4 separate regions of the Homo sapiens genome follow, and all the other regions are linked to region 1. The links are contacts of gene promoters, found by promoter capture Hi-C in human tissues and cell types (Jung and others, 2019). All regions are on one chromosome and are shown on one strand. Each heading gives the region's core, a stretch centred on a gene start or on the middle of the fragment in contact. The rest is flanking DNA. Distances are from core to core; before and after follow the strand shown.

The links. The method cuts DNA at HindIII sites, captures the fragments that hold promoters and counts their contacts. A contact is called where the count stands out against the background at its distance.
Region 2: a contact is called between a fragment that was not itself captured here and the fragment with the promoter of IGDCC4 in region 1, in 1 of the 25 tissues and cell types used here (lymphoblastoid cells).
Region 3: a fragment that was not itself captured here is called in contact with the fragment with the promoter of IGDCC4 in region 1 in 2 of the 25 tissues and cell types used here (adrenal gland and thymus).
Region 4: a fragment that was not itself captured here is called in contact with the fragment with the promoter of IGDCC4 in region 1 in 1 of the 25 tissues and cell types used here (lymphoblastoid cells).

Annotation. Positions count from the first base shown.
Region 1 is chr15:65,419,490-65,425,591 of GRCh38, forward strand. It overlaps IGDCC4 (immunoglobulin superfamily DCC subclass member 4), which reads right to left and starts at 3,458. Exons shown (of 20, transcript NM_020962.3): 1 at 3,304-3,458. The coding sequence starts at 3,373. It overlaps LOC124903510 (a long non-coding RNA gene), which reads left to right. Exons shown (of 2, transcript XR_007064684.1): 2 at 1-80. RefSeq lists enhancers at 2,361-2,470, 2,491-2,760, 3,736-4,270. The HindIII fragment of the contact is 12,230 bases long and covers 1-6,102 here.
Region 2 is chr15:65,871,050-65,877,151 of GRCh38, forward strand. All of the region lies in intron 1 of RAB11A (RAB11A, member RAS oncogene family), which reads left to right. Among named protein-coding and RNA genes, the nearest start is that of RAB11A, 4.6 kb to the left of the region's middle. The HindIII fragment of the contact is 7,068 bases long and covers 1-6,102 here.
Region 3 is chr15:64,968,407-64,974,508 of GRCh38, forward strand. SPG21 (SPG21 abhydrolase domain containing, maspardin) reads right to left here. Exons shown (of 9, transcript NM_016630.7): 6 at 1,708-1,816; 7 at 849-956. Among named protein-coding and RNA genes, the nearest start is that of SPG21, 18 kb to the right of the region's middle. The HindIII fragment of the contact is 8,694 bases long and covers 1-6,102 here.
Region 4 is chr15:65,854,350-65,860,451 of GRCh38, forward strand. LOC105370866 (a long non-coding RNA gene) reads left to right here. Exons shown (of 3, transcript XR_932372.2): 3 at 5,270-6,102. Among named protein-coding and RNA genes, the nearest start is that of TRQ-CTG1-4, 12 kb to the right of the region's middle. RefSeq lists a silencer at 2,678-2,767 and enhancers at 3,649-3,738, 3,799-3,878. The HindIII fragment of the contact is 3,245 bases long and covers 1,587-4,831 here.

The sequences.
Region 1 (6,102 bases), core at 2,208-4,707:
TCATGAAAGCACATAGAGGATCAATGAAGGTTTAGGTATCTTCTGGATAAGATTCATTATTAAAAGAAACTCCAACTGTTTGACCTGATTCCTAACTTCCAAGATGGGGAAAGAGGCCCACCCCAAATGACTGAGATTGGCCTCTGAGCCTCTGGGCTGAGAAAGGGATGGGGGAGGTGAGGAGTTCCCAGGTGAGGAGAAAGCTCTCAAGTTCTTAGAGGCCTCCCATTACTGACCTCTAGGTTCCCTACCCTCCAAATTCTGACTTGGGAAGAAGGGAGAGCCGAGAGCCCCACCTTTGTGCGTGTGATAAGAACAGAGCTCGGCTTCTCGCCACCTGTTCACAAAGGGGTCCCAGTCCCTGACTCAAGAACAGTGTTGGGAGGAGATGGGCAGGCACAGGCATTATCCTAACCCCAATACCAGCCCTTCATTCTGCCTCATGTTTTTTTGTTGTTGTTGTGTTTGTTTTTTTGAGACAGAGTCTCACTTTGTCGCCCAGGCTGGAGTGCAGTGGCGTGATCTCAGCTCACTGCAACCTTCACCTCCCAGGTTCAAACGATTCTCGAGTCTCAGACTCCCGAGTAGCTGGGATTACAGGCATGCACCACCACACCTGGCCAACTTTTGTATTTTTAGTAGAGATGGGGTTTCACCATGTTGGCCAGGCTGGTGTTGAACTCCTGACTTCACGTGATCCGCCCGCCTTGGCCTCCCAAAGTGCTGGGATTACAGGCGTGAGCCACCGCACCCGGCCTATTTCTTACTTTCCTCTCTCTCGCCCCCTACAAATTCAATCTATCCTCAAGTTCTACTGATTCTATTTCCTGAAAATCTCTGGAATGCAGCCACTCCAGCCCAACCCCAACTGCCACTATGCTAGCTGCCACCATCCTCTCTTCTGGATTGCTACAACAGCCTCGAAGGAGCTGGAGCTTCCTGCCTCCAGCCCCACCCAATCCATCCTCCACACTGGCTGGAATGAGATGATGCAAAGCTGATTTTAAATCCTGTCAAGGGCTCATGGGGACTCTCAGGCCAGAAACCTTGGTGGGCCCTGTAAAGCCCTTTGTGAGCTGGATCTAGCTCCCCTCTTCAGCCTCCTGTCTTGATACTCCCTGACCCCTTTCCATGCTTCCCTCACCTGCCCCCCATCCACCCCTTGTCCCTAAACTCCAGCTAGATTTAGTTTAATCCAATGATCTCAACTAAATCACCTCTGAACTTTGCACATGCTGTTCTCTGGAAAACTGTCCCCATCATCATTCTCCTTCTACAGGGCTAACTCCATGTCGAGCTCTACTACTCATCACTTTCTTCAGGAAGCTTTTGCTGACCTTCCCAGATCGGTGTAGGAGCCCCTCCTTCCTGCGTCTTCCCCAGCACTTCAGGGGACTTGTCAGTTTCCCCCTCCACCAGACTGAAAGCTTTGCACCAGGGATCAGGTCTGCCTCCTTATTTACTATATTCTAGGCACTAGGCACAAGCTAGCCTATAAAAGGTGCTCCATAAATATTTGTTGAACGAATGAATGACCTCAGTACAGATCAGGGTGGCTAGTCATGACTCGACTGGAGTGTCCCCCGGCCTGCTGAGATTTGGAGGACCAGGGCAAGCTGTTGTAGCCACTCACACTGCAACCAAGAGACGCCGCAACTCGGTCCCTCGCCTGCTTTGTGCGTTCGGGAGCAGGGAGAGGCCAGGGAAGCTGGGTCCCTCGCGGCAGGTCCTAAAGGTATTGAATAATGCGCCGGTGCGGTTCCCAGCCCTGATGCCGTTTAGCTGGGTGACCCTGAGCTCGTTCCAGGAGCCCTAGGAATAGCGGAAGGTGGGGCAGGGGAACTATTCCTTAATCCCCTGAGCTCTGGGAAGACAGACCTCTCTCTGACACTTCCCCGCCCCTTTCACCTGACAAGCCAGGGCCTCCAGCTCCTCTGGCCCAGCAGCCGAGACCCAGCCTCGCGGCGGCCTCCAGCTTAATCCGCTGTTGGGGCTGGAAAGGGGCGTGTCTTTGTAGGGACAGAAGGGGTCCGAGGAGTTCCCGGCACTTTCCCACCCGCTGTTTGGTTTTCCTGGAGATGGGCCTGGGGCTGGCCAGGCGGAGGCTCCTTCCCCCCGCCTCCCTCCCACGTGGCCTGGCTGAGTCTCTCTGGAAAGCCGCAGCAGCTGGAGAGAAATCCCCCTCCCCACCCCCACCTCCAAGTCCCTCCCCGACTCTCCCCGGACACATCCTCAGCTCCCCCCTCCGCGGGGAAGGCAAGAACTAGGCGAACAAAGCGGCCAGCCCATCCCCCTCCCAGCCCTGCCACCTACACTCCCCATGAGCCGCCCCCAAACGCACACCGGACAGGAAGCGACAGAGCTGTGGGTGGAAGCCGCAGCCCTAGACACACACCCTTGGGGACTTCGCTATCCCCTCCCCAGCCCTTTCTCCAGCTTGGACAACTCTGACTTACCCCGTACCCACTCCGCACTGGGCTGCGGACTGGATGAGGCCCTGCTGACCTCGTCCACGCTTCCCTGGTCGGTCCCTGGGGGGTGGGGCCGGGGTGACACGCGTCCCATCGTGAGAACAAGCGCTGGACATGTCCACGAAAGCAAATGGTTTCCTGCCCCCTCCCCCAGTCCACTGCTGGCCACAGGTTTTGGGGAGCAACACCTCCCTCTACCCCTCTCTAACCGGCCCCAGGGACCACACCCACTGGGCAAAGTTGAGTGTTGTTTTATCACCACCACCCCCAGTCAAACGGGATCCATCGCTCTGTCCCCCACTATGGGCAAGGACACTTCCCAAATGCCAAGGCCAAATATTAGCTCAGCCCCATAAACACAATTGCACACGCACCCGACCCAAATGGAGGTGCAGACACAACCCCAGTTCCCTCCTCTTTTACACACACTCTCAACCCAAGACACGCGCAGGCAAGGCAGAGCCCGCCCCGCGAAAGCCACCGACACCGCAGCTACCCGCCCCGCCGATGCCACGCCGCGACCATGGCACGCACTGCGGACACGACAGGAGCACTCCCAACACACACACACACACACACACACACACACACACACACGACTCCAGACTCTGCGAACCAAAGGCACACACCCACTGCGGACAAGCACGCCCCACAAACGCCCCCCGGCCGCAGCTCGCAGACCCCCGCGCAGGCATCGCGGGCACCTGGACGCGCAGCCCCCGCACTTGCTCGGGACTCCGGCTTGAGCCAGCCCCGCAGCCCGATGCAGACCAGGGCGCGGGCGCACCAGCACTCCGCAGTCGCTCCTGCCTCTCCGGGCGCCCGCCCTTACCGCGCGCGGCCAACAGGCAGAAGGTCAACGCGAGGAGCCCGCGGCCGCGGCCGGCGTCCCCCCGCGCCATGGGGCTGGGCTCGGGCCGCCGCCGCCGCCGCCGCCTCCCCGTGCTTCGGCCGCCGCCGCGGGGGGAGAGCGCGCCGGGCGTCAGTGGCCCGGGGAGGCGCGGCGCCGCGGGCGGGGGCGCGGCCTCGGGGGCCCGGGCCCGAGCTGGGGCCGGCGCGGGGGCCAGGGCCGCTGCCGCCTCACCCGCCCCTCCATCGCCATCTTGGGCGAGCGGCCCGGGAGGGGGCGCCCGGCGAGTGTGGCCACCCTGGCCCCGCCGGGGACCCTGCGCCCGCGCGCCACGGCCCTGCGCCTCGCGGGGGCTCCTCTCGGCCCGGGTCTGTGTCCCGGTGCCTCGCCCTCTCCGGGTCGCCGCGGGCCCCCGTGAGGCCGCCTGTTGCTGGGTCTGTCTCTTAGTCTCCCCGTCTCTGAGTCTTCTGGTCTCTCTGCCTCAGCGTCTCTATTTCTTCTCCCTGTTGCTGCCTCGGGGTCTCCACCTCCGTTCCAGGCTCAGGGGAGGCAGATTCAGGGCCACGGTCTTTGTCCAGATGGCCCCCTTGCCACCCGAGCCCAGTCCATTCCAGCCCAGGTCCTGGCCTGAATGCTGGTTCGCTTCTCCACACGTTGCGCCAGCCCACCTGCGGAGATCTTGATAGTCCTATCTGCCATCCCAAACCAAGGGCTTCTCTTGGCCTCCTTCCCTTGCTCTGGCAGTAACTAACACAGGCAGGACACTTTTACACTACCTTCAAGCACTACCATATTCAGATGTCGCCGCATGGGGAAACTGAGGCTGGAGAAGGTGAAGTGACTTGCCCAAGGACAGGAGGCTAGGGAGCAGCAGATACAGGACCTGAACCTTGGTTTTCTGACTTCGGAAGGTCATCTCCACTCCCTCACCCTGCCTCTGCTGTCCAGCATTTACTGAAGTACCCTTTTTCTCATTCTTCAACGGTACTTTCTCTAACCTACCTAGCCAGACTGTTTGCCTCAGTATCCCGCAAATATTTCTTGTTCTACAGCCAAGGGTTCAATTGTCAGGCTAGGGTGGGGAAAAGAGTACAGATTCAATGACCTAGTTAAGGTCCTTTCCAACTCCAAGATGCCATAGTTCTTCCCTTCCCTGTGTCTCTAAGTGTTCCTGTGACTTAGAGCCATCTTGTCTCTACACCTGTCTGTTGTCAGTTAACCCTCAATAATCACTGGCGCTTTGCATATCTAACAGGCCTGGCGTTTATTCATTCATTGCCACGCCCCATCTTCACTTGCCCTATCAGCAGCATTTGACTTAGTGAATCACTCCCTCTTCCTTGAAACACTTGCTTCCCTTAGTGATCTCATCTGGTCCTCAAGGCTTTAAAGAGCATCTTTATGCTAATGATGCCCAAATGTATACTTTCAGCCTAGACCATCTTTCCTGAACCCTGGACTTCTGTATCCAGCCATCCAGGCCCCAGTTCCTTTAGCTGTCTAGTAGACAAACTCATCCTGATCTTTTCTATCAATCTTTCTCCTCCCACAGTCTTCCTCATCTCAGTTCCTTTCCTGTTGCCCAGGTCAAAAATGTAGAGGCCAGGCTTGGTGGCTTACGCCTGTAATCCCAGCACTTTGGGAGGCCGAGGTGGGAGGATCGCTTGAGGCCAGGAGTTCAAGACCAACCTGGCCAGCATAGCGAGACCCCCATTTCTATTAAAAAAAAATGTAGAGTCATCTCCTACTCTTCATGTTCAGATGCTTCACCCTCCACTTTCTCACTGTGGCCTTGGTCCAAGACCCGTCGCCTCTCACCTGGATTGTCACAGCAAACTCCTCACTGATCTTTTTCTGTCCTTGTCCTCCTTGAGTGTTTTCTCAATACAGCAGCCAGAGTGCTCCTGTTAAAATGAGATCATGCCACTTCTCTGCTAGAAACCCACCAGCGGCTCCTATGTCAGAGCAAAAGCCAAAGTCCTTATTGTGACCCACAAGGCCTATCTGATCTGTAGGCTTGCTCTACCTCTCTGACCTCCCCTTCGACACCACCCCCTGTGCTCACCACCTCTCCAGCCACACCATCCTCCTTGCTGTAACTTGATCGCGGGCAGCCTCCTCCCCTCCAGCCTCAAGACCTTTGTCCGGCCAGTGCAAGTCTAGAGATCTGTTCCCTCATACTGGATACCATAAAGGCTTTCTCACAGCCTCACCCCCTACTCTTCCTATCCTCCTTCCCTGCTGTCTATTCTTGTCTTTAACTGTCACTTTCTTTTTTATTTTATTTTCTTTCTTTTTCTCTTCTTTTTTTTTTTTTTTTGAGACAGAGTCTTACTCTGTCCCCCAGGCTGGAGGGCAGTGGCTCACTGCAACCTCCGCCTCCTGGGTTCAAGTGATTCTTGGGTCTCAGCCTCTCAAGTAGCTAGGACTACATGCCCAGCTAACTTTTTGTACTTTTAATAGAGACGGGGTTTCATCATTTGGTCAGGCTGGTCTCGAACTCCTGACCTCAAGTGATCCACCTGCCTTGGATCCCAAAGTGTTGGGATTACAGGCGTGAGCCAGCACGCCTGGCCAACACTTGTCACTTTCTTTTTTTCTTTCTTTTTTTTTTTGAGATAGAGTCTTGCTCTGTCGCCCAGGCTGGAGTGCAGTGACACGATCTCAGCGCAGTGCAACCTCCGCCTCCTGGTTTCAAGAGATTCTCCTGCCTCAGCCTCCCGAGTAGCTGTGACTACAGGTGCCTGCCACCATGCCCGACTAATTTTTTGTATTTTTAGT
Region 2 (6,102 bases), core at 1,850-4,349, 450 kb after region 1:
CTATTAAAGCTTTACTGTGGAGGGTGGAGTTTCAAGAGTGTTAAGCATGGTGACTGTTTCTGTCTTTGCCATTGGGTGCTAAGAATGATTGACTAAACCAAGCAGGAAAGATTTCTTTGCTTTCCCAATACTTTGCAAATCTTGTTATACTAACTAGTCTGCTGTTATACTCTTATCATCTCTTACTCCTCTGACTCAGAATATTCTACTGTATAGGGTGAATACTTTTGGTATCCACCCTCCCCCTCCATACTGGAAAGTACTTTCAGGGTACTTAGTTCATTTTACAAATACAAAACTGAGGCCTGGATTACAAAAAGTATATGACAGCATACCTTTTGCCGAAGGTATCTGAGATGATGTGAAACTATTTGAATCTCTTGAGACTTTGGGGTTAAAGGTTAGGTTTGTGTTTTGAAATATGGTATAATGGTAGTGTGCTTTTATAAAGGTTGTCTTTGAAGTAATTAATTCAGAACAAGATAGACCGTCAGGGTATTTCTCCTGTTTGGTTTGAACTTGAATGTTGGTTATACAAGGTCCTTTTATTTTTTAACAAAGAATATTAAATATTCTGAATTGGCCTAAAGTATTTTAACTTTTTGATTAGACCATCCTTCTAGCAACAATTGAGAGCACTGAGCTTTGGAATCACGTAGACCTCGGTTTAGATCCTGACTCAGGTCTTATATTTACTTTATGACCTTGGAAAAGTTAACTTTTCTGAGTCTCAGTTCTCTACTTTATAAAAAGGAAAATACCTGCCTCTTAAGATTGTGAGAATTAAATAATGAGACTGTTCGTAAAATTTTAACCATGAGGACTCAATAAATGGTAATAATGTGAAAGAAGTTACTGTGGTTTTGTCAGTTTTTTTTTTTTTTTTTTTTTTTTTTTTTGGAGACAGGGTCTCGCTCTGTCCCCCAGGCTGGAGTGCAGTGGCACAATCAAGGCTCACTGCAGTCTCGGCCTCCTCAGGCTCAGGTGACCCCCCGACCTCAGCCTCCCTAGCTACTCTCTAGCTCCTAGGAGTAGCTGAGACTACAGGAGCGCGCCACCACGCCCGGCTAGTTTTTTGTTTTTTTGTAAAGACAGGGTTTTGCCATGTTGCCCAGGCTGGTCTCGCACTCCTGGACTTAAGCAATCCACCTTCCTCAGCCTCCCCAAGTGCTGGGATTATAGGCGTGAGCCACTGTGCCTGGCCTTTGTCAGTTTTTTGAACCTTAAATGTAGGTTCAACTACAAGAGCATTTAAATATTATTAAAGAAAATAAAACTAGGAACTTCGAATGCATTTTATGTTTCCATGGGTTATGGTTTCATTTTGTTGTGCATTTTGCTGTTTAAGATAGGGTGTTAAAAATTCTGCTAAGGAGGATTTCTACTTTTTTTTTTTTTTTTTGAGATGGTATTTCGCTCTTGTTTCCCAGGTTGGAGTGCAATGACGCGATCTCGGCTCATTGCAACCTCTGCTTCCTGGGTTCAAGCGATTTTCCTGCCTCAGTCTCCCGAGTAGCTGGGATTACAGGCATGGACCACCACACCCGGCTAATTTTGTATTTCTAGTAGAGACGGGGTTTCTCCATGTTGGTCAGGCTGGTCTCGAACTCCTGACCTCAGGTGATCCGCCCGCCTGGGCCTCCCAAAGTGCTGGGATTACTGGTGTGAGCCACCGTGCCTGGCCAGATTTCTACTTTTTTAAAGCTCTTACAGGATATGAGTCACTTTTTCTTTTTCTTTTTTAACTTCAATGCTGATTATTTAGCCAATTTCTTATTTATACAAGTATCCTACTTTAAAGTGAAGCAAGAATGATTTTATTTCAAAATGGCTTTATTGTACAGAGATTTATTCACTGAGATGGACTGCAGCTGTTTCTACTTAGAAGGTTTACCTAGCAAATGCAATAGTTGAGGGAATTGGAGTTAGTTTGTAACTAACCAGTTCAAAATAAAGGGATATTTTGATTAATAGGGGATGGAGTGGTCTAAATAGGAATGTAATGTGGGGCGAGCAGGACAATTATTCTAAATTATGTGTTTGTTCTTGAACAGTAACCTTTATTTAAGCCCAATAGTGAGACTTTTGGTGGGAGGGAATTAGTTTTATTTTATTTAAAGTTGACTTTTTATTTTTAAAACTTTAATTCCTTAAGTATTTACGAACAATGTGGTTAAGGCCCTGTGGGACATAAGTAAGCATCAATCATGATTTCTGTTTACAAATATTGTGTGGTAGACACCAATCCACAGTTAGATTTTCTGAAAATATCTGGATACATAGTCTATTGCTTAAGACATTTTCTTTTCAATCACATTGGAGGTCAGTAGTAATTAACCATCAGCTGATTGTCAGTAGAAATTATCATAGGAACTTTGCTGTCTTGCATCTTGGTAGTAGTTTTTCTTTCACAAGTTTTGGTTGAGCAACTCAGATTCTGCTGAATCTGGAAAAACTTGTCTAGACTTGAGCCTTATTGTATGCATTATATCTATATCTATATCTATATATATATATTTTTTGAGGCAGGGTCTCCCTCTGTTGCCCAGTCTGGAGTGCCATGGCACAGTCATAGCCCACTGCAGCCTCAAATTCCTGTGCTCAAGAAATCCTCCTGCCTCAGCCTCCCAAGTAGCTGCAACTACAAATGTGCTCCACCATGCCTGGCTATTTTTTTTTTTTTAAGACTATCCCACTTACAGAAATAAAATTTTCTTTTTTGTAGAGATAGGGTCTCCCTACGTTGCCCAGGCTGGTCTCAAACTCCTGGGCTCAAGGGATCCTCCCACCTTGGCCTCTCAGAGTGCTGAGATTACAGGCATGAGCCACTGTGTCCTGCCTTGAACGCATTGTATATTAAAAACTTTTGAGGAGGTTGGACTATGAATATAGTTGAAAGAATAGAAATGTCTCCAAATTTATGAAAACTAGAATGAAAATTACCAGTTATTCTCTCACGTGGTAACTTTTAGGGTTGAGGTACTGTCTTTGATGAATTATATTTTAGTCCAGTAAATTAGTTTGCAAGAGAAAGTATAAAACTAAATGTGGTTGAAGAGGCAGAAATTTTCAATGGATAATTAATATGTATATTCTGCTTTTATGCATTTAGCAGCTTGATATTCAGTATTAGGTATTTGCGATGATACTCAAATACAGCAGATGTCTAGTTGATAACTTTTTTTTTTTTTTTTGAGATGGAGTTTCACTCTTGTTGCCCAGGCTGGAGTGCAATGGCGCGATTTCAGCTTACTGCGATTTCAGCTTACTGCAACCTCCGCCTCCCGCTTCAAGCAATTCTCCTGCTTCGGCCTCCTGAGTAGCTGGGACTACGGGCATGCGCCACCACACCTGGCTAATTTTGTGTTTTTAGTAGAGATGAGGTTTCTCCATGTTGGTCAGGCTGGTCTCAAACTCCCGACCTCAGGTGATCCACCCTCCTTGGCCTTCCAAAGTGCTGGGATTACAGGTGTGAGCCACCACGCCCGGCCTAGTTGAGATAACTTTTTAAAACATTCATGAATTTTGAGTTATTTTCAGATTAGAGTGCTTTTTTTTTGTAGTGTTAACATTAATTGGTTACATTAAGAGAAAAGTTCCCTTGCTATCTTTATGATGGTATAAGGAGTTGAGATTGGTGAGATAATGAACATAATCATTAGTTAAAAGTGGAGGTCAAAAGGGAGGAAACCAAAACTTGAAAGTGCTGGAGTTGGCCGGGCATGGTGGCTCATACCTGTAATCCCAGTACTTTGGGAGGCCAAAGCGAGTGGATCTTTTGAGCCCTGGAGTTTGAGACCCAGCCTGGGCAACATGGCAAAACCCCATCTCTACAGAAAATACAAAAAATTAGCTGAGCGTGTTGGCATGTGCCTGTAGTTCCAGCTACTAGGGAGGCTGAGGTGGGAGGATCCTCTGAGCCTGGGAGGTCTAGGCTGCAGTGGGCTCTGCTTGTGCCGTGGCACTCCAGCCTGGGCGACAGTGAGACCCTGTCTCAAAAAAAGAAAGAAAGAAAGAAAGTGCTGGAAGTTTTTTTTTTGAGACAAGTTCTGGCTCTACTCCCCCGGCTAGAGTACAGTGGTGCACAGTCCAGGCTCACCACAACCTCTGCCTCCCAGGCTCAAGCCATTTGCCCACCTCAGCCTCCTGAGTAGTTGGGACTACAGGCATGCACCACCGTGCCTGTCTAATTTTTTTGTTTGTATTTATTCATGTATTTTTTGTGTATTTTTTTGTATTTAAATTTTTTTTTTTGTATAAGTGATTCAAAGGCCATTTCCTTAGCAAACATCCAGCCTTTTGTACTAAGAGGCAACAGTGAATGTATCCTATTAATAATAGACTATTAACTGAAACTGAGATTTGACTTCATATCCAGAATGGTGGACCTTGGAAACTAGTATATCAACTAACCATCCTATAAAATTGAAAGTGCATTGCTTTTGTACATCACTTTAATAACTTTGACATTTTCTTCTGATATCAAATAAAAGCATGTATGTGTTTGCCACAGCATCTTTGACACCCTCTAGTTGACTCTCTAGTTAGAAATAACCATTCTTTGTGCTGCATTGGATTCACTGCCTCCTGAATGATTTCTTGCTGAATCAGCTGACTGAGAAAGCCAGAAAGATATGCATTTGATAATGTACTCTGTCCAAGACTGTCCAGAGGCTAGCTTATATCCACTCCTGTGGCAAGGAGGGAATGTATAATGGACTCTCTTTGCCCTCTGACCAGAATGCAGTGAGCTCTCAGTTTTTACCATTCTTTCCACTCGTACCACCATCCCAGTCTCTTTAGTAAGGAATGGTCTTACTCCTTGGCCTTATTTTTGTATGTTTGATTTTCTAGTCCTGATGTCTAAATCAATTAGCTAGTTTAGATAAGAAGAAGTCTTAGTAGTCAAAAGTAGGAACGAATGTAATGTTTCCTGAAATGCTGATACCAATTTTTACAAAGGAAAAAATATCTAGCTCAGATTCTATAAACGTGTGAACTCATTTTGAACTTTAAATTCAGATAGAAAATGTTTTAAAACAACTTAACTGCCTGTTTCTCCATTGTTTTTGAAATTCTTAAGCGTAATACCACTTTGAGTGAAAAAGAATCTCCATGTATCTAGTTAGTAAATAAACTGCTGCCTATAGAAATCACAGGAAGCAAATTCATCTAATCAAGACCTATTTTCAAAAAAATCATGGAGTCATAAGTGAAAGTATATGCCCTCCTTGCTTTGTTGTATTTTATTTTATTTATTTTTTTAAGACAGAGTCTCAGTGTGTCGCCCAGGCTGGAGTGCAGTGACACAATCTCGGCCCACTGCAACCTCTGCTTCCCGGGTTCAAGCTATTCTCATGCCTCAGGCCCACAAGTAGTTGGGATTACATGCGCCCACCACCACACCTGGCTAATTTTTGTATTTTTATAGAGATGGGGTTTTCACCATGTTGGCCAGGCTAGTCTCGAACTCTTGGCGTCAAGCAATCCGCCCACCTTGGCCTTCCAAAATGCTGGGATTACAGGTGTGAGCCACCACACCCGGCACTTGCTTTGGTTTTGACTCACAGTATGTCAGAATTATTAGTTTCCTAATACCCCCTGTTTATCTGTAGTGGCTTGGGTTTTTTTGGCAGAGGGGTCTCTAACTTTGAACCAATCTGATAAATGCAACTATTAAAGGTCATTTTAGTTTCTGTGATCTGTATGGTGATGTTTATAAACCCTATGCCTCATATGTTAAATGTTTTTCATTTTGCCTAGGTCTCAGTCCTGAGGTCACACCCAGTCTTTGATGAAACGAAGTATATTCATTTTGTCCTTCCCTACCCACTAACAGCCTTTGTTGTTTTCATTTCTGATACATTACATTTTAATATCATAAATTATTCATTTAGTTTAGGATTTATCTTTGAAGTTGTTATCTTCTAAAGTAGTAAGATTGGCATAGCATTGACGGTAATTAATGCCTGTCATCAATGCCAAGGGCATCTGTGATTAAAACTGCATGTTTAAGACAGGGTACCGTATCTGTGCTAAGCAGATGATATGTGGAAGTCATGCAGGTAGAAACAGGTTGAAAAGAATAAATCGGTTTTATTG
Region 3 (6,102 bases), core at 2,303-4,802, 450 kb before region 1:
TGTGAAACATTATGCTAAGTGAAATGGCCACACAAAAGGATAAATGTTGTATGATTCTACTTATATGAGGTTCTAGAATAGGTAAATTTTTATAGACAGAAAATAAAACCGTTGATTATCAGAGGCCGGGGGAAGAAAGGGAACAGGAGTTATTGTTTAATGGGTATGCAATTTCTTCTTGGAATGATGAAAATGTTGTGAAAATGGTGATGGTTGCCGAACTGTGAATATACTTAATGCCACTGAACTATGCACTTAAAAATGGTTAAAATGGCATATTTTAAATGTACATTTTACCACAATAAAAAAATAAGCAAGCTTTTGTGGTAATTAAACTATGGAATTCTTGATTCTCTACCCTTGTTACCCTTGTGAAGCACCTTCTCTTTGCTGCCCATATATGTGCAATATATGGTGCAATATCTATTGATGAGAACAGCAAAAATACATCAAATGGGTAGACTCCCTTGTTTAAATTTATTTTGATTCATTTTTATTTTTATTTTTTTTTAATAAATACAGACAGGGTCTCACTATGTTGCCCAGGCTGGTCCTGAACTCTTGGACTCAAGCAATCCTCCTGCCTCAGCCTCCCAAAGCGCTGGGATTACAGGCATAAGCCACTGTGCTCGGCCTATTTTGATTTCAATGGTGTTATTCCTGCCAGAAAGAAATCCAAGATAAGCAATAAACAGATTATTTTGGAATTGAGAAAGCTGGAGGGTAAAAACAAAAGCCAAGGCAGCATTTGAAGAGGTACATTGAAAGTTATCAAATAGTTTTATAGGAGATCTTGACATACACATTTTAAAAAGTAAAGCAGCTATTTTACTTAAAAGGAAGCTTACATCCATAATAGTTACAGGTATGTCCCGAATTTTATGAGGTTCCACATAAGAATTTTGACAATTCAAGGTAAGTCTTGAAGCCAGTTCACTCTGACCCAAACTTTCTAGCTGCAGGAAGAAACACAGGTAAAGTTTTTGAAATAATTTTGTTTTTCACATTTACATTAAATCCACAGACAACATTTGTGCTTATAAAGGTGGTATCATCTGTGGTGGGGCCAGAAAAGTCATCAGTGAGGAACCACAACTTAGGTGAGAGACCATGAACTGGGCTTCTCAGGAGGTTGTGGCATTTTTCTATTCTGGAAACCTGGGTACAAACCAATGAAACCCGGCCTTCTACAGCCCTCAGCCTACACTGCCTACTCCAGCCAGGTGCCCATGGGCAGCAAGCCAATTCCTACTGCTCAAAGGTGACAGATATATGTTTTTGTTTTTTTTTTTTTTTTAAGATAAACCTTTAAGGGATCTTAAAAGAGATTTGAGAAATCATCTAGCCCAGCAGTTCCTAAATGCAAGCCAACAGACCTGGTTCATCAGATTTACCTGGTGGGTAGAGGAAAAGTGTGAAGTAAAAATAGATTCCCAGATCCCATGCCCAGGGATTCCAGATGGATGATCTGCTGTGAGGCCTTACAATCTGTATTTTTGAAAGCTCCCCTAAGTGATTTTGATGAATAGCTGGTGGGAAGCACTGATGTAGGCAAGCCCTTACCAGCAATAATATCTGCTCAGATGTATTACTCTGCTTAGCAAATACCTCTTACACATACTTGTGAGACAGATCTATCTTCTGGAACCAAGTAGATGTGAAAATTCCCAATACAATGTGTCCCCAACCCAATGTCATGATCCTTACCCTGTCTACCATGAAATCAATGGCATCAGCCATCATAGGGTCCACCGGGCCAGATGAAAAATTTCCAAGAACTATTTTTTTGAGCATAAATGCAGGCATCAGCCAAAAGCTGTAAAACACAAAGACCTTATAATTTAAACTTCCAAGACTACACATGGCAAATATTCATTCAACATTAAAGCTTTGTATTAGCTTGGGATCTAGAAATAAAAAGTCCTAATCCCCTCCTCCAAAGAGCTCAGCATCTAGTTTTTACACACACTTTCCCAAGCTTCCAAAGAGTTATGGCTTCATATAATTAAACTTTTATTTGAGGATTTAGGATAATTATAAGAGATATTTCAAAATACCTTTACTGAGATAGACATTCTGATGAGTCCAAGATTGTTTTTTTTCTCTAATTGGCCCTATTTCCAAGGATTAAACTATTTCTTTTGGAAAACTGAATATTAAGAGAAGTATTCTTTCCTTCTGGTTGATATTATGTTTTTATCGATTGATATTTCAAAACAGATTTCAAAATACCAATATGAAAGCTATTGCACCTCCCCAAATTTGCTACTATTAGATTCAACTTGGCTAATTCAAGGCAAATTGATATTTATAGATTTATTTTTTAAATTTATTATTGTTATTATTTTTTGAGACAGAGTCTCAGTCAGTTACCCATGCTGGAAGTACAGTGGCATGATCTCGGCTGGGTGCAACCTCTGCCTCCCGGGCTCAAGCAATTCTCATGCCTCAGCCTTTCGAGTAGCTGCGACTACAGGCACATGCCACCACGCCCGGCTAACTTCTGTATTTTTAGTAAAGATGAGCTTTTGCAATGTTGGCCAGACTGGTGGTGAACTCCTGGCCTCAAGTGATCCACCCACCTCAGCCTCCCACAGTGCTGGGATCACAGGCGTGAGCCACTCCTGGCCTCTTTTTATTTTTTAATTAAAAAATTTAAAAAAAAACTTTTAGAGACAGGGTCTCACTCTGTTGCCCAGGCTGAAGTGCAGTATTGTGATCATAGCTCACTGTAGCCTCAAACTCCTATCAAGTGATCCTTCTACCTTGGCCTCCCGAGTAGCTGGGACTACGGGCTCGTACCACCAGGCCTGACTAATTTTTTAAAAATTTACTGAGCTGGGGGAGCCGGGGCCAGGCACGGTGGCTCATGCCTGTAATCCCAGCACTTTGGGAGGCCAAGGTGGGCAGATCACGAGGTCAGGAGATTGAGACCATCCTGGCTAACACGGTGAAACCCCGTCTCCACTAAAAATACTAAAAATTAGCCGGGCTTGGTGGCGGGCGCCTGTAGTCCCAGCTACTCGGGAGGCTGAGGCAGGAGAATGGCGTGAACCCAGGAGATGGAGCTTGCAGTGAGCCAAGATCGTGCCATGGCACTCCAGCCTGGGCGACAGAGCCAGACTCCGTCTCCAAAAAAAAAAATTTACTGAGCCAGGCGCAATGGCTCATGCCTGTAATCCAGAACTTTGGGAGGCCAAGGTGGGTGATCACAAGGTCAGGAGTTCAAGACCAGCCTGGCCAAGATGGTGAAACCCCGTCTCTACTAAAAATACAAAAATTAGCCAGGGGCGGTGGCCAGCGCCTGTAATCCCAGCTACTTGGGAGGCTGAGGCAGGAGAATCACTTGAACCTGGGGGGCAGAGGCTGCAGTGAGAACGTGCCACTGCACTCCAGCCTGGGCAACAGAGCGAGACTCCCATCTCAAAAAAGAAAATTTTTTTTCTGTAGAGACAGGATCTTGCTCTGTTGCCCAGGCTGGTCTAGAACTCCTGGACTCAAGCAATGCTCTTACCTCTGCCTCCCAAAGTGCTGGGATTACAGGTGTGAGCCACTGTGACTGGTCAGATCTTTACGGATTTCTATATATGATCTTTAGTTTATATTTATTCCATTAATTTCAACTGTTAAGAGCCATCATGGAGGGCAAACACTAATTTCTGTAAACCTATGACGAAAATTACTTAGATGAGGTGCAAACTACCTTCTGATGCTTATTACCACTGGGACAGCCTTGCTGGAAGTTGAGCTTCCCTCAAAAGGACCACTAGGTCACCTTCCAGTTAACTTTCTAAGTTCTCTCCCAGCCCCATCACTTTCTTATCTTTTGAAGGTGATGAGGTCTAAGTACGCTCTGTAAGGGGTGGACCCTGTTGACTTTGCTCACTCCTGGATCCTCAGTGTGTGGCACACAGTAAGCACTCAGATATTTGACAATAAGCAGCTGATGTGCCAGAGCACAAACTGAATGGGGGCTGTCTTGGCATTCTAACAATTAGAACAGCAATAAAAATCACCAAAAATAATGAGCATTATTTAGTGCATTATCTGGACGGGAAGGATTTGTAAAGTAGCTAATGTATACAAGAAATTGTTGCATGAATGCTGAGTAATTACTAAGATAACATCAGAAAAACTAAAAAATAGCTGGGCACAGTGGCTCATGCCTGTAATCCCAGCACTTTGGGAGGCTGAGGCGGGCGGATCACGAGGTCAGGAGATCGAGACCATACTGGTGAACACGGTGAAACCCCGTCTCTACTAAAAACATAAAAAATTAGCCAGGCATGGTGGCGGGCGCCTGTAGTCCCAGCTATTCGGGAGGCTGAGGCAGGAGAATGGCGTGAACCTGGGAGGCAGAGCTTGCAGTGAGCTGAGATCGTGCCACTGCACTCCAGCCTGGGCGACAGAGCGAGACTCCATCTCAAAAACAAACAAACAAAAAAACAAACAACAACAAAAAAAACTAAAAAATATCAGAGTGCAATTTTAAGTAGATGTGAAAACGATATTTCCCTATACATTATTTGAAAACACTGATCATACAGATGTGTTTACTCACTGGGCTTTTTTTTTGAAGTAGGGTCTTGCTCTGTCACCCAGCCTGGAGTACAGAGGCACAGTTGTGGCTCACTGCAGCCTTGAACTCTTGGGCTCAAGCGATCCTCCTGCCTCAGCCTCCTGAGTAGCTAGGACTGCAGGTGCATACCATGATACCTGGCTAATTTATTATTATTGTTATTTGTAGAGATGGGGTCTCACTATGTTGCTCAGGCTGGTTTCAAACTCTTGGCCTGAAGTGATCCTCCTGTCTTGGCCTCCCAAAGTGTTGGGAGTACGGCATGAGCCATCACACCTGGCCACTGGGCTTTATTTTAAGGCTAGAGCCTCGCCTTGCCAGCAATGAAAGAAGTGCACAGTAAGCCAGCTGTATGGCATCATAGATACCTACCAATTACTTAAAATGATAAAATCAATGAAAGGATGGCTCCTAGGAAACAAGTACCCCACTGGCTGCACCCAAAGCATTTCCACCATTTTGTTTTTGGTTTGTTTTTTTTTTGAGATGGAGTTTCGCTCCTGTTGCCTAGGCTGGAGTGCAATGGCGTGATCTCGGCTCACCACAACCTCCGCATCCTGGGTTCAAGTGATTCTCCTGCCTCAGCCTCCTGAGTAGCTGGGATTATAGGCATGTGCCACCTTGCCCAGCTAATTTTGTATTTTTAGTAGACAGGGTTTCTCCACGTTGGTCAGGCTGGTCTCGAACTCCCGACCTCAGGTGATCCGGCCGCCTCGGCCTCCCAAAGTGCTGGGATTACAGGTGTGAGCCACCGCACCCAGCCTCATTTCCACCATTTCTATCTTTTGGAAGAACAGACTAATATCAAGGGTCATGATGTGCAGAACATCTGTTGACAGACCAAATGCTCTATTCTTTCCATTTGGAGAACATATCTCAAGGAAATAAATTGGAAAGGGAAAAAACCCAGTAATTTGTACAAAGATTTACTGTAGAATGTGATGAAGAATTGGGAAAAGCCAAATGCCTAATAAAACTATGTCAGTCAATACACGGAACTGTTTACACATAATAATAAGTGGGATAAACAGAACATGGTATTAGTTACATAGAAATACTGAATAAAAACAGCAAAAGTATATTAATGAATATTAAACAAAATTTAAAAATTTAAGGTAATAAAAAAAGCTGAATTTAGAGTTCATTCAATTCTTTCCTTTTGCAAAGGTAATTGTTTCTAATTTTAAAAGCCAAGAAAGAGCCGGGCACAGTGGCTCATGCCTGTAATCCCAGAACTTTGGGAGGCCAAGGTGGGCAGATGGCTTGAGCCCGGGAGTTAGAGACCAGCATGGGACAACATGGCAAAACCTCATCTGTACAAAAATATACAGAAATTAACCAGGTGTGGTGCCATGCATGCCTGCCTGTAGTTCCAGCTACTTGGGAGGCTGAGGTAGGAGGATCGCTTGAGCCTGGGAAATAAAGGCTGCAGTAAGCTGTGATTGCACCACTGCACTTCAGCCTGGGTGACAGAGCAAGACTCTGTCTCAAAAAAAAAGCCAAGGAAGTTGCAGAATATAGAA
Region 4 (6,102 bases), core at 1,959-4,458, 430 kb after region 1:
GCTTGAACCCGGGCAGCAGAGGCTGCAGTGAGCTGAGATCACACTGCTGCACTCCAGCCTGGGTGATGGAGGGAGACTCGGTCTCAAAAACAAAACAAAACAAAAAACAATGGGATGGTTTATTAAATAAATGATGTTGGGGCAATTGGATATTCATATAAGAAAAACTAATGCTAAAATAAATAAAACTTATATATGGAAAAGATTCCATTTAAAAAGTTAAAATACAGCCAGTCACTGTAGCTCACACCTGCAATCCCAGCATTTTGGGAGGCCAAGGCAGGTGAATCACCTCAGGTCAGGAGTCTGAGGCCAGCCTAACCAACATGGAGAAACCCAGTCTCTACTAAAAATACAAAATTAGCCAGGCATGGTGGCGCATGCCTGTAATCCCAGCTACTCGGGAAGCTGAGGCAGGAGAATTGCTTGAACCTGGGAGGCTGAGGTTGTGGTGAGCCGAGATCGTGCCATTGAACTCCAGCCTGGGCAACAAAAGTGAAACTCCGTCTCTAAAAAAAAAAAAAAAAAAAAAAAAAAAAAGTTAAAATACAAAGAATGAACTGAAGAAAATATTTGCAACATGTATGATTGACTAGGATTTAATATCCTTAGTTCTATAAAGAGCTTTTATGACTCAATAGGCAAACAATAAATATCCTGATAGACAAACAAAGGATTGAACAGGCAATTCACACACACACAAAGGAAATGGCCATTAAACATTTAAAACTTCTCAACTTCACTTGCAAAAGAATACTGCTAATTATAATAAAAGATGTAATTTTTATACATTAGCAAAGGTGAAATTGATGGACAGGATAATATTCCATATTTTAAAGAATATAGAGAATCAGTGGCCGGGTGCCATGGCTCACACCTATAATCCTAGCACTTTGGGAGGCTGAGGCAGGTGGCTCACTGGAGGTCAGGAGTTAGAGACCAGCCTGGCCAACATGGTGAAACCTTGTCTCTGCTAACAATACAAAAATTAGCTGGGCGTGATGACACGTACCTGTAATCCCAGTTACTCAGGAGGCTGAGACAGGAGGTTGCAGTGAGCCAAGATCGAGCCACTGCATTCCACTCCCACCCCCGCCAAAAAAAAAAGATAATCAGGAACTCTCAAGCATTACTAGGAATAAAAATTGGTACCACCATCAGGAAGGCATTTCTTCTAGAAATGTATTCAAAGGAAATGTTTAGAAGGATGCTCACTACAACATCTTTATAGTATCAAAACATTGAGAAGATCCTAAATGTTTATCAATAATAGGTTGGTTAAATAAACTTTGGTTCATCCATATAACAGAGGTATATAAGAGTTTAAACTAGATCTGTATTTCTTACTATTGAAAGATTCAGAGAAAAAATGAGATTGCTCAACAGTGTATATTTCACTTATGTAAGAATTAAATACACATCTTCATATATTGTATATTAAAGATTCTGCAGGTTGAAGAGTCTGAAAGACTATATGCCAAAATGTTAATGCTACTTGAGGAAAGAAGGGGAAGGTATCACTTGTATTTTCAGTTGCAAGCAATAGAAAATTAGAGTCAAATGGACTAAAATAATAAGGGGAATATATTGGCCAAGTAGTCAAATGCCTAAAGGCAGAGTGGGCTTTGGTGATGGGTTGACATAGGTGTTCAACGTGTGGTTCAGCTTTTTTTCCATCTTGCCCTTTGCCTTCAAGGTAAAAGCCTCTTTTTTTTTTTTTTTTTTTTTTTTTTTTTTTTTTGAGACGGAGTTTCCCTCTTGTTGCCCAGGCTGGTGTGCAATGGTGCGATCTTGGCTCACCGCAACCTCCGCCTCCTGAGTTCAAACAATTCTGCCTCAGCCTCCTGAGTAGCTGGGATTACAGGCATGTGCCACCACGCTCAGCTAATTTTGTATTTTTAGTAGAGATGGGGTTTCTCCGTGTTGGTCAGGCTGGTCTCGAACTCCTGCGTCAGGTGATCCATCCACCTCGGCCTCCCAAAGTTGCTGGGATTACAGGAGTGAGCCACCATGCCTGGCGGTAAAAGCCTCTTAAAGACATTATATTGAGTGAAATAAGTTAGACATAAAAGTGTAAATACCCTATGATTCCCCTTAGATGAGATACCTAGGGTAATCAAACTCATAGAGACAGAAAGTAGAATGGTGGCTGCCAGGGCATTGCATAATGGGTATAGAGTTTCAGTTTTGCAAGATGAAGAGAGTTCTGGGGCCGAGCGAGGTGGCTTATGCCTGTAATCACAGCACTTTGGGAGGCTGAGGCAGGAGGATCACTTGAGGTCAGTAGTTCGAGACCAGTCTAGGCAACATGGTGAAACCCCATCTCTACTAAAAATACAAAAATTAGCTGGGGGTGGTGGCGGGTGCCTGTAGTCCCAGCTACTCGGGGGGCTGAGGCAGGAGAATCGCTGGAACCGGGGAGGTGAAGTTTGCAGTGAGCCAAGATCGTGCCACTGCACTCCAGCCTGGGCAAGAAAGCAAGACTCAGTCTCAAACAAAAAAAAAAAAAAAGAAAGAAAGAAAATAGTTCTGGGTATATTTGTTGCATAACAATGTGAATGTACACTGTACAACGTAAAAATGGTTGAGATGGTACGTTTTATGTGTATTTTATCACATTTTTAAAGAAAATTACATTGCCTAAAAAGGTATAATAAAAGCCTCATCCTAAGGCTAGCTCCCCCTGGTGGTGGGAGAGTTGCAGCACATTGAGGCGAGGCTACAGGTGTCACTAAGGTGCTGGGTGTCTCCCTTCACCCATCATGCAGCCCACCCAGGCTTCTCTCTGGTTGGACCATAATAGTATGTTTCTGGATCATGCACTCTGCTGGCATCACATTCTAGGGCTCTCTTTGGAAATTTGGGAAGAAACTTTTTTTTTTTTTTTTGAGACAGAGTTTCACTCTTGTCACCCATGCTGGAGTGCAGTGGCGCCATCTTGGCTCAATGCAACCTCTGCCTCGTCCCCCGAGTAGCTGGGATGACAGGCACGCAACACCATGCCTAGCTAGTTTTTGTATTTTTAGTGGAGACGGGGTTTCACCATGTTGGCCAGGCTAGTCTCGAACTCCTGACCTCCAGTGATCCGCCCGCCTCGGCCTCCCAAAGTGCTGGAATTGTAGGCGTGAGCACTGCACCTAGCCTTGGGGAGAAATTTTGGCTGTCACAATAATTGGTCATTTACAGAATGTGGGCCAGGGGCATTAGATTTCTGATAATGTATGGGTAAATACATTACAGAATTTTCCCACATTCCGCACAACTTTTAATGCCCTGCTCGACATTAATGTAGATTTTTAAAAACTTGTGTGTAATAATTTGAGCCTAGCCTCTCATTCCATTTTATATATAAATATAAACTATTTTTGCATGGTTTTAATATAAACAGAATATCCAGATATGAGGCTAATGAGTAAATTGACAGAAAATAGTATTTAGCTACATTTGGAACTTTACCAAAAGTTGTTCACTGTTTCAGAAAATCATGTCTTCAACAACCAACACTTGTGGTATTTGAGTCACTGATTTAGCCCTGCATATTGCAATTCACACTGCATAATGCAATTCACACTGCATATTTTAACATCTCTGAAATCAGGATGTATCCTACAATCAATGACGTCTACAAAATACACTAGTGAATATTAGTCTGCATTTGAAGCTGTTGCATTGATTTCTTGCTTGGATTCTTATAACAACCTCCCAACTGGTCTCCCTGCTTCCATCCTTCTCCTCCTACAATGTTTTCAACAGAGCAGCCAGATTTTTCCTTTTAAAATGTAGGTCAGATCATGTCACTCCTCTGCTCAAAACCTTCTCATGTTTCACCAGTTTACTCAGAGTACAAGCCTTACAGTGGCCCATGAGGCCCTTCAAGATCTGGCTTCTTTACTTCTCTGACCCATCTCCTACTTCTGCTTTTATTTATAGTACCTGCTCTAATCCACCTCCCTGGTCCGTTTACAGACCACGCACTTGCTAGACAAGCTTCTGCCTTAGGGTCTTCACATTAGCTATTCCACCTGCCTGCGTATTTTTCCCCTAGATAATCGGTGTGATTCATTCCCTCACCTCCTTTAAATCTTTGCTCAAATGTACCTTCTAGTGAGGCTGCCTTGACTACTCTATTTTGAACTGCAAGTCACTACCCACCTCTCTACTGCTCTGAACTCTTATTTCCTTTTACCCTGTTCTACTTTAAAAAAGTCATAACAGGGCCGGGCGTGGTGGCTCAGGCCTGTAATCCCAGCACTTTGGGAGGCTGAGGTGGGCGGATCACCTGAGGTCAGGAGTTCAAGACCAGCCTGGCCAACAAGGTGAAACCCCATCTCTACAAAAACACAAAAATTAGCCGGGCATGGTGGCACGCACCTGTAATCCCAGCTACACGGGAGGCTGAGGCGGGAGAATCACTTGAACTGGGGAGGTGGAGGTTCCAGTGAGCCGAGATAGCACCATTGTACACTGTACTCCAGCCTGGGTGACAGAGCAAGACTCCACCTCAAAAAAAAAAAAAAAAAAAGATCAGAACAGTTGTCATCTTCTAATGTAATACATAACTTACTTATGTATTATGTTGATTGTGGTCTATAACCACACCACCCTGCTAGAATGTTTGCTCCATGAGGCAAGGATTTCTTTTTCTTTCTTTTCTTCCTTCCTTAATTTCCTTCCTTCCTTCCTTCCTTCCTTCTTTTCTCTCTCTCTTCTCTCCCTCTTTCTCTCTCTTCTCTCCCTCTTTCTCTTTCTTTCTCTTTCTTTCTTTCTCTCTCTAACCCTCCCCCCCGCTTTCTTTTTTTGTTTTTTTTTTTGACATGGTCTCACTCTGTGGCGCAGCTGGAGTGCAGTGGTGTGAACTTGCTCATTGCAACCTTTGCCCCCAAGGCTCAAGCGATCCTCCTACCTCAGCCACCCGAGTAGCTGGGGCCACAGGGATGCACCACGATGCCCGGCTATTTTTTTGTATTTTTAGCAGGGCCAGAGTCTCGCCATGTTGCCCAGGCTGGTCTCGAACTCCTGAGCTCAAGCGATCCACCCACCTTGGCCTCTCAAAGTGCTGAGATTACAGGCATGAGCCACTGTGCCCAGTCTAAGGCAAGGATTTCTGTCTGTATCCCTAGTAAACAGTGCCCAGCACATAGTAGGTACTCAATAAACATTGTTACATAAATGGTGATTCTGTTAGGTGCAAGTATCTAATTACTTCATTATGTCTTCTATTACACTTGTGCTCAAGCATTTACTTTTTTTTTTTTTTTTTTTTTTGTAGAGACGAGGTCTTACTACCATAGCCCAGGCTGGGCTCAACTGATCCTCCTGCCTCAGCCTCCCAAAGTGCTGGGATTACAGGTGTGAGCCACCACGCCCGCCATCAAGCATTTACTTATTGAAACACATATCTTTTTATAATGCATTATTTTCTTATTTATCCTTTATACTTATAGCATTATATTGATTTTTAAAGTGTGTGCACTCACCTATGCAGCACTCAAAAGGTTCTCTAAAATGATGGTTGACATCTTTCTTCAACTCTGGTGTTTTCCTATGTAACTTTTTCTAAGTGTAATATGTACTCAACAACTAAAATAGGATGTATGATATGTACATGCCTGCATGGGCATACAAAGACACACATACACATATATAAAATAAAGAAAACACTAAAATATCAGCAAGCTTGACTCCCAACTTAAAATTATGTGTGCAGGAAGGTATATCATAAGATAAGATCTATTGATGTCAGGATGGTAAAGACAGTGTTATGAAACGTTTGTTACAATATCAGGGTTTGGATGTTAGGATTGAGAACCTCAGGGTTAGATAATTCCAGAAGCCACTCCTGGAGCTGTGGGTAGGGATAATCCCACCCAAACTGCCTGGCTGTTTTCTGGATGGAAGGGGTGGGGTGGTGCTGGGGAGGAAACCACAATGTTGGCAGCCAGGAGGAAACAAACTTCACTTTCCAAGTTTACTGTACTTCTATATTGTTTGTGTTATTTGACTATTTTACAATGACTGTTCATTCCTTTTGTAACAAGCAAGACCAGTAAAGCTTTTTTTATTTTAAAATCTCCTATAAAATATAGAAAACAGATAAACAAA